3 separate regions of the Homo sapiens genome follow, and regions 2 and 3 are each linked to region 1. Evidence: promoter capture Hi-C in human tissues and cell types (Jung and others, 2019). All regions are on one chromosome and are shown on one strand. Each heading gives the region's core, a stretch centred on a gene start or on the middle of the fragment in contact. The rest is flanking DNA. Distances are from core to core; before and after follow the strand shown.

Region 1 (3,003 bases), core at 340-2,839:
TCATATCAAAGGGTATTATATTGAGTCCAAAACAAAATATTTCCTTCTTTTTTGTTTCAGACAGGGTCTTACTCTGCCTCCCAGGCTGGAGTGCAGTGGCGCAACCATGGCTCACTGCAGCCTCGACCTCCCAGGTTCAAGCCATCCTCCCACCTTGGTCTCCTGAGTAGCTGAGACCACAGGCATGCTCCACCCTGCCTGGCTACTTTTAAAATTGTTTGTAGAGTCAGGGTCTCACTATGTTGCCCAGGCCAGTCTTGAACTCCTGGGCTCAGGTGATCCTCCTGCTTTGGCCTCCTAAAGTGTTGGGATTGCAGACATAAGCCACCATGCCCAGCCAGGGAAATTATTTTCTTTCATGTTGCTTTTAACTTTAATGTTTTGAATAGATACTATCATGACACAGTTTAAAGATTTTTTAAAGTAAGACAGTATTCAGTGAAATGTCCTCTTCTAACCCCCACCCCAATGCCCTGGCCAGTCATGGGTTCTTTAAAAAAAAAAAAAAGTCAGCAATGGAAAGCATGGCCAGACCACAGGGTGAGGTTCTTTCTCTCAGAGCAGTGATTTTGCAGCATGGTGTGGGAATCTCATGGTCTTGCAGGTGGGCAAAGCCCACTTCTAGAATCCGGCTGTGGTCAGGTCACCACCTGCCTGCTCACTGTGTCTCCAGCCTCGCATTTGCATGTATTTGTTTCAGTATGTCTTTTGAGAGTCTTCTACGTATCAACCTTCCACAAAATTCTGAAAATTTCTGTGTGTGTATGTGTGTGTTTGCAATGGAAATAAAAAGCGTCCATGAATTTTATCTTTCCAAGTAGTCTGGAACACAACCCCACAAAACCTCACAGCCAAAGGTACCTGCCTGCTTGTTTTCCTAGAGAGAAGCCTTCCCGCCACACCCACACTCAGGTTTGCACCTGAACCATGGAAACCTCGCCGAGAAAGGCCTGGGGTGATTTAGCCCGGTGATTAGCTCTTGCAAACTAGCCCTTAAGTCGGGAACCTGGGACCAGGACAAACAGCACACTGTCTGTTACCATTATTTAGGCAAATTCTTCCAGGAAGCAAACTCATTTTTTTTAAAGAGAAAAAGTACAGAAAAAAATTGATTTAAGAAGACTGAGTTCATGAACAATTTGAATATGAACTACTTGACAATAATGCCATTTAATTATTGTTAAGAACACACAACTACCCAAAAGCATTACTGATAAAATATAATTCCAAATACCACATTCCTCGGCCAAGACAGCACCTAAGAACACCATGAGGAGCAGCATCTGGGGCCACGCTGGGTGCCTGCCCTGCCCAACTGGGCTTAACGCACATGCTCCCGGGACAAATGGAATTCTGGCACCCAATGCACGGACTCTGATGGAGGAGGTCCTACTCACCATTCTCCCGAGTTTGGGATCCATTAGGCTGGAGTTCTGAAGCCTCTAGCAACTTTCCCAACCTCCAAAAAATGTGGCAGAGGGAGTCCCATGAAAGCCCCAAGAGGGTGACATTAAATATCTCTCTGTGCCCTGACCCACGTTGTCCCCCGGAAGGAAGACGAGGCTGGTATAGTGGAGCTATTCACATCTGGAGAACAAAGCGGCTTCGGAGGTATTCATTCAGCTCAACTGCAGAGGAAGAGACAATGCATCTCATACGCGCAGATACGGGATGAGGCAGTGGCCCCAAAGTCATGTGATGTCACTGGAAGCCAGCAGCCTGGCCCAGCCTGCGACTCCTCGGGTTCTTCTTTGGGGGCACTTGTGTGTCATCTCTGAGAGGGAGTAGGGCCCCGGCCAGCAGGCAGAGCTGAGCCAGCGGCACAGCCCCCTCAGGTGACAGCCCCCTCACATGACAGGCCCCCACACACTGTGGCTGTGGGCCCTTGTGATGGAATGTTACGGCCGAGGATTAGCTTCCTAGGGCTGTGCAGGGGCCGAGGGTAGAGTTTTCCCAGCTCTCTGAAGGTTCGCTGCAAAATCAGCTTGCAAAGGGCAGTTGAATTGGAGAAGAGGCATAACAGATTGATTTGCTCCTAGTTTTAAGTGACATGGGAGCCTTCAGAAGGAAGGACCAATCCCTAATGGGGTTGGGAAGCTGAGACACCCTCTTGAGGTTCCACAAGGAGTGGCGGCTTAGATTCTCGCGCAACAGGTTATGGGAGGAGAAAAGAGGACTTCAGCTGAGGGCAATCAGCGCTCACGAGGGAGGATTCAGTGGGCTTGAAGAGCACGCCACGGTCTTCGTTCAAGTCTGCTGGGCCCCGGAGCAGACAATGGTCTTGACAAGTCTGTCCAGCGTGTTCGGTGTCAGCCTTCCTTCCTGAGATATGGGTTCAGTTAACGAAAACTCAGGGAAGGGACTAGAGGTCATTCCTTTCTTCTTTGGTGGGTCAGACTTGAAGGAGATAAGGACACTTCAGGAACTCTGGGAGAGATGGTGGGGGTGGGGGAGCCGAGAGGCCTTGAAGTTCCTTTTCAGTTCAGCTTGAACAAAGCACCATATTTTGGGGTATTGGCTTCTGAGCCCCAACATCTGCTCTAACAAAAGTACCCTACACTGGGTGGCTTAAGCAACAGAAATCGGTCTCAATTCTGGAGACTGGAAGTCTGAGATGAAGGTATGGGCAGGGCAGGTTTCTCCTGAGGCTGAGCGGGAAGGGCGTGCTCCAGGCCTTGACCCGCGTGGCTGCTGGCCGTCCTTGGTGTCCCTTGTCTTGTACAAGCATCACCCGATCTCTGCCCTCATCTTCTTATGATGTTCTCCCTGTGTATGTGTGTGTGTCCAGATTGTCCCTTCTCATAAGGACACAGTTGTGTGTAATCAGGGGTCCATCCTATGCCCATGTGACCTTATCTAAAGATAAGTAATTCAATCTGCAATGACCCTATCTCCATAGAAGGTCACATTCTGAGGTCTTGGGGGTTAGGATGTCAACATATAAATTTTGGTGGGAAGGTCAGGGGACAGTAGAGAAAAGGAGGCAGCAGGGCACAGGCCAGA
Region 2 (3,003 bases), core at 368-2,867, 57 kb before region 1:
TTTTTAAAACTTTACTATTTCTGAATAAAATTTACATACATTTCTCAGAAAAAAAAATATTTGGAATTGAGGTATCTAATAGAGAACTGAGTTAAATTATTGCCACTTAAAAACACAAAGTGATATAGCCACTTTATGAATTAATCAGTCAGCAGTGGCTAGGTTATGCTTAGTGGTTTATAACCAAATCTTAGTTTATAACAACAAATGTGTATTGTTAATTCCCACTACAAGTTTATAACGACATTGCTGGATGCTACACTCCATGTCTCTTTGTGGGACCCAGGCTCATGGGACTTCTGTTACCTGCATTAGAGAGAGAGAAGACAACAAAATATGCACTGGTTCTTGAAGCTTTGGCCCAGAAGTAAAATATGTCTTTTACCTGTTCACATTGCATTGGGCCAGGGCAATTATCATGGCTGCAAGTAACTTCAAAAGGATGGGGAAGTGCGATCTTGGCATGTGTCAGAAGAAATGAAAACATTTGGTGAAGAGCATTAATGACTGTCTTTACAGGAAAAAAGCAATCAAATAGACATGATTGCTTGTTTCAGTTTCATCATTTCCTACTGTGTTACCTAAACTTTCTGAGCCCCAGTTTCTTATTACTAAAATAAAATAAAGATGATATTCACTTCAAGGACTTTGTGTTAACTAGGGTAAAAAAATTGAAAACTAGTAAGTTATGCAAATTAGAAATGTATAATATTACTGCTTTGAAAGTGATGGTGAAATGTAGAATAATTGGAAGGATAACACAAAGCACTTATACCAGGAGGCTTTTAGCTGCAGATAATAGAAATGAACCTCCACTACTTTAATCAATAAAAAAGTGTATCAGCTCACAAATTTGTCATCCAGACATAAAGGAGGCTTCAGAATTTATTGACTCAGGAGTTGAATGTTGGTATCAAGGACCTAGATTTTTCTCATCACTCTGCACTTCAATTCTCAATGCCCTATTGAACATCAGGCTGTAGTAAGATGGCTAGAGTGATTCCAGGGATAACATCTAGAGATAAAAAAGAGAACTCCTTTTCTTATGATTTTTTTCTTAAGAGAAAAGGAATTTCCCAAAAGCCCCCAGCAAGCATGCCTTCACATCCCATGGCCAGAAGTGGCTCACATGTGTACCCTGAGCTAAGCACTGCAGACAGGAATGGAATCGCCTGTAGGCCTCAGAGACCACCTGGATCTTGGGAAGGTGTCAGCTCTACCTGTGGCACTTGGCTGAGTGGGAAAGGGATGGAAACATGAATAAAGTAAGAATTAGGAAGGAAAAGGAGAAATGGATCCAGGGTATGAAGCCAATAGTTTAGTTATCTCAACAAATATGATTGATTTCATCTTTATGAATGTGATGACCTAATTTAATACATTCAATCAATGAAGTAAAAAAAAGTGCAAGGACAATATGACATCTGTCATTCTCTGTTGAGATTTGAGAGGTAATAATACCAAGAACGTGTGGTGACCTGGGTCCTCACTGCTACTGTCTTCCTGTACCTGGACACTTCTAGCAAGAGACTTCAACTTCAGAACAAAGAGGATCCCAACTTGTAGCTGCATTATACACACCCCAGCAGCACACATAAGTTGATTTCTAATTATTCCTCTTTAAGAAATTGTTTGTGGAATATTTATCTATTTATAAATGGAAAAATAGAAAATTAAAATAACAAAAATAAGTAACACCATGTATTGAGTGTCTACTGCGTGCTAGGCACTGTGCTAAGTGTTCTGCATATATTGTCATTGTGCTGCCAACGACTCTGCAATAAAGATGTTCCCATTCCTACTTTACAGCTAAGGAAACCAAGGATCTGAGAAATAACGTATTTTGCCCAAGATTATCCAACTGGTAAAATCTGGAGTCCAAATTTGAACCAGAGTCCATTCAACACACTTTCACCTCTACACCAGTGCTTTCTGAGTTTGCTGAACATTAGAATCACCTCAGGAACTTAAAAAAAATTCCCAGGTGATACCCCATAGCAAGTAAATTAGAAAATCGGGCAGGGGAAGAGGAACCCTGGCATCAGTACTTTTTAAAGTCCCCAGGTACTTACAATGTGGAGGAAAGTTTGGGAACCACTGTGCTATATTATGTTGCCTCTTCAGCCAAGAATGTAAACCAGAATCTTTTCTTCCAAGGCCAAGAGCAGTGAATGATAGCTTATGGTATATACTCTCATTCCCAAGTGATCCTCTTCCTCAGGAGTTCTGCTTTAGGCTAACTAATTTCAAGTTTCCCTTTCACTACATTTCTCACCCATCTGAAGCTAAAAATGTTACAGGAGACATGCTGAATTTGTTGCTTTTTCTCTGTTATCTCTCCTTTTCAGAGCCGCCTCCCCTTACTTTACTTCACCTGCTAAAGTATCCCTGAACTCTGCCTTCTGGGGTTGAAAGTGGGATTTTAAATAAACTATAGATGGCTTCCTTTATTTGGTTATAATTATTTAAAATTTGAAGGAAGCATTGGTCATTTTTGGTGACTAGTCATTTTTGATGACTAAGTGTCATTTAAAGTTTCATTTCCTTTAAATTAACATTTTTTGTCATTCCATTCAAATGCCTACTTACAATGGCAATAAGAATATGCTATGAACACTTAACCACCCACACTAGAATTTTAAATCTAAGTTCTTCTCGAATGCTGTTTTGGTGAATTTCAGTGTGGGAGGTGAGATGATTTAAAGCTTCAGATTTTCTGTTATAGTCAAAGGCATAATTTATCTGACATCTTTTTTCATTCTGCCTAAGGAATTACACTAGAATAATGTTTTTAAATAAAATTTGTCCACATAATGACATTTTTTTCAATTCTATCCAAACTAAAATAGCTCCAAAGCGTTTACTTATCATAACTGTTAAGAAATTATACTTGCCAGGCATGGTAGCTCAAGCCTGTAATTCCAGCACTTTGGGAGGCTGAGATGGGTGACCTCCACTTGAGGTCAGGAGTTCGAAACCAGCCTGGCCAACATGGTAAAACCC
Region 3 (3,003 bases), core at 169-2,668, 35 kb before region 1:
TTACTTTTCCTAAGGGACTTTGCCAACAGGGACTAGATGTTCTGCCTGATCAATAAAGACTGCTTCCAGCTGGATAAGGACATAGCCAAACACATTCTTCCACTATCAGTTCTTATCAGAGGACTTGGCAGTCATAAAACGACCAGGATGTCAGCAGCTCAAAACTTAACAGACACTGTCCTGCTGTCACTTGTGCTAAGCGCCCAGCATCTGCCACCAAAGGCTCTGCCCAGATCAAAGTCTCTTCCTTACAAGACCACTGGACCACCCGGGCCAAGCCAGGATTTCTTTTTGTCTACGTCACTCTCCCTGGACTGGTTCATTAACCTGTTTTCCTATCACTTTTCTTTTCTTTTTTTTTAATTATTTATTATTATTATTATTAATTATTATTATTATTATTTTGAGACAGAGTCTTGCTCTGTCACCCAGGCAGGAGTGCAGTGACATGATCTCAGCTCACTGCAATCTCCGCCTCCCAGCTTCAAGCAATTCTTCTGCCTCAGCCTCCCAAGTAGCTGGGACTACAGGTGCACGCCACCATGCCCAGCTTTTTTTTTTTTTTTTTTTGTATTTTCTTCATAAAGACAGGGTTTCACCATGTTGGGCAGGCTGGTCTTGAACTCCTGACTTCAGGTGATCCACCCGCCTCAGCCTCGCAAAGTGCTAGGATTACAGGCATGAGCCACTGTGCCCAGCTCCTTCTCTCTTGATGGTAAATGTTACTTTGTTTGTTGTGGAATGTTCAGTCTATAACATTCACATATTGGCTAGGTATACCACAATGTATGCTTTACAATACTGACTGCCTTGTGGAGTAGCTTGAGCCTGTGTGCCTGCGCTCTGACTTCTGAATGAATGGGAGGCACTAAGGAGAATTGCCTCCTTGGGAACTCCATGGAGCCCATGGCTTTTATTATTGAGATAGCATCAGTAAAAGCCTGACATTGTGGAATGACACAAACATGTGTGGACCTGGTTATCTCTGACCATGCGGTGCTCACGCTAATTTAAGGGCAGAGATGCTATTAATACAACCATGCCCTTCAATGTTCATCCCTGGAGGTCTGACCTTCTACTTAAACACCAGACCTAAAACTCTGGAATGCTTACGGTGCCTTCCACTTGAGCATGCTTCCAGTTTCCAAAACTCAGGAGATCTAGACCCAAACTCAATCTCTTCTGCAATTACTTCCTACCAGCATGATTTCTCCTATATACGCCATATCCAATCAATTACCAATTTCTACAGGTTGGGCTTTTTTGAAGTTGATTCTTCAGTTCATTCCCTCCCATCCTTCCTGCCCAGCTGGTCTTTCTCTGTTCCTCTTCATCTTCAATGTGGCACCAGAGCAATCTTCGGTATGGTCACTTTAGCATTAAGACTTTCCGTTCACTAGGCAATAATGCTAGCTAAATTACTCTGGAGTGTGGACGGTCTCACTTCGAAAGCTTGAGCTGGCTGTCTCACATTCTGATGACAGCTCCCCTTGTCCTCTCTTGTAACGTTGCTGTACCACCTGTTCTCGGTCTTCATTAAGACGTCAGTCCCTTGACCCTTCCAAGATGTCCCACATTGCCCTCCTGCCTTTGTTTTTTCCCCTGTTCAACCTGAATACCACCGTTGATCACCTCAGCCCCTCTGTGCTCAACACCTTGATGAGCTCTTCCCTACTTTCTCCACCACAACCCTCTGGGGTAACCTCAACCCCTGGGCCAGCCTTCTCTGTCCCTGGCCACTGAGCATGCTGCAGAAAGCCAGCAATTTGCATGGACAGATGACTCCAGACCTTACCACTGCCTGGCCCTTCTTCATCCTCCCATCCCTTCTCTTCCCCCTGTCCCAAAGTGACCACTTCAAGCCATCACTTCTCTGCAGATACACTCACTTCCTACTAAACAGAAAAAAATGGACGCTAAGAGGGAAAAAGCTCTAGGACTTGGAGCTCTCTACCTACCCAAAGCCCTCACAGAAGAGGTTATTTTCTTCCCCTGGGTCTGGAGCTCGCCCCCTCCCACCTCCTCAGTGCCTTCGTTCTCAAAAATTCTCCCCCTCCCTCCCAGGTCTCCAACTGCTCCCTCTGTCTATTGCCTCCCAAGGGCTTCCTCTAGCCATCATCCCAGCTGTCTCCCACTTTTCACAGCCATGTTTCTTGAAAGCGGGTTCTAGAGGACAGTCCCTGCTTCCTATTTTCTCTGTCACTCCCACATCTCTTTAGTATCTGTGTCTCACTAGAAGTAAACTTCCTGAGGGCAGAGACTATTTTATTCAGTCCTATACCCCTGGGACTTAGCATCCTCCTATCTGACAAATAGAAGGCACTCACTGTTTTTCACACGCATAGCCATGTGTGTTTCCGTGTATGTGCTGACATCTGAATCTCAAAACTGCCTAGGGATTGGATACAGCATGGATTATCAGCCTACACGTTGTTATATGAGAAAACAGATTGAAATGATGAAATAATTAGCTATTTACCCGGGAGGGACTTTCTATGTCTTATGCACTATCACAGATTGCCTGTATTACTAGAAAAAGAGAAAAGGGGAAGGAAACTGATTATGCGTCAAACCTCAACTAAAGGCTGCATGTAATGACACAGTCATCCTGGGAGGGGGCGTTATTGTACCATCTTTCAAGGTGGGAAACCAAGGCTCAAGGTGAAACCACCTGCACAAGGCTGGGCATGGTAGAAGCTAGGATTCAGATGCTGGCCTCGGGCGACACCAATGTTCCTTCTCTTTCCCTGTGACCACGGCACTGGGGTCTCCTGCCACTGTGGCCAGCAGGCCCACGCTGGGAGCAGGACACAGCACAGTTGCCCCTGCATTGATCGCGCAGTCTGCTTACCTCCCTGTGGCTGCCATACCTGCCTGCAAATCCCATGGCCAGAGTTTCCAAGCTTTGCTTTGTAAGTCACAAACCCCTGTGAATCCCCTCTCCAGAACAAGGTACATAGCCACATCCACTCCAAGTGTTGGGGGTTCATGACCTCCCCAAAC

The links. Contacts are between HindIII fragments. The study calls those that stand out against the background at their distance.
Region 2: a contact is called between a fragment that was not itself captured here and the fragment with the promoter of CNDP1 in region 1, in 1 of the 25 tissues and cell types used here (aorta).
Region 3: a contact is called between a fragment that was not itself captured here and the fragment with the promoter of CNDP1 in region 1, in 1 of the 25 tissues and cell types used here (spleen).

The regions. Positions count from the first base shown.
Region 1 is chr18:74,533,086-74,536,088 of GRCh38, reverse strand. It overlaps CNDP1 (carnosine dipeptidase 1), which reads right to left and starts at 1,589. Exons shown (of 12, transcript NM_032649.6): 1 at 1,398-1,589. The coding sequence starts at 1,421. The HindIII fragment of the contact is 24,351 bases long and covers 1-3,003 here.
Region 2 is chr18:74,590,466-74,593,468 of GRCh38, reverse strand. ZNF407-AS1 (ZNF407 antisense RNA 1) reads left to right here. Exons shown (of 2, transcript NR_024484.1): 2 at 1-1,695. Among named protein-coding and RNA genes, the nearest start is that of ZNF407-AS1, 5.9 kb to the left of the region's middle. The HindIII fragment of the contact is 5,535 bases long and covers 1-3,003 here.
Region 3 is chr18:74,567,601-74,570,603 of GRCh38, reverse strand. The region is part of intron 6 of CNDP1 (carnosine dipeptidase 1); the gene reads right to left. Among named protein-coding and RNA genes, the nearest start is that of ZNF407-AS1, 29 kb to the left of the region's middle. The HindIII fragment of the contact is 3,145 bases long and covers 1-2,990 here.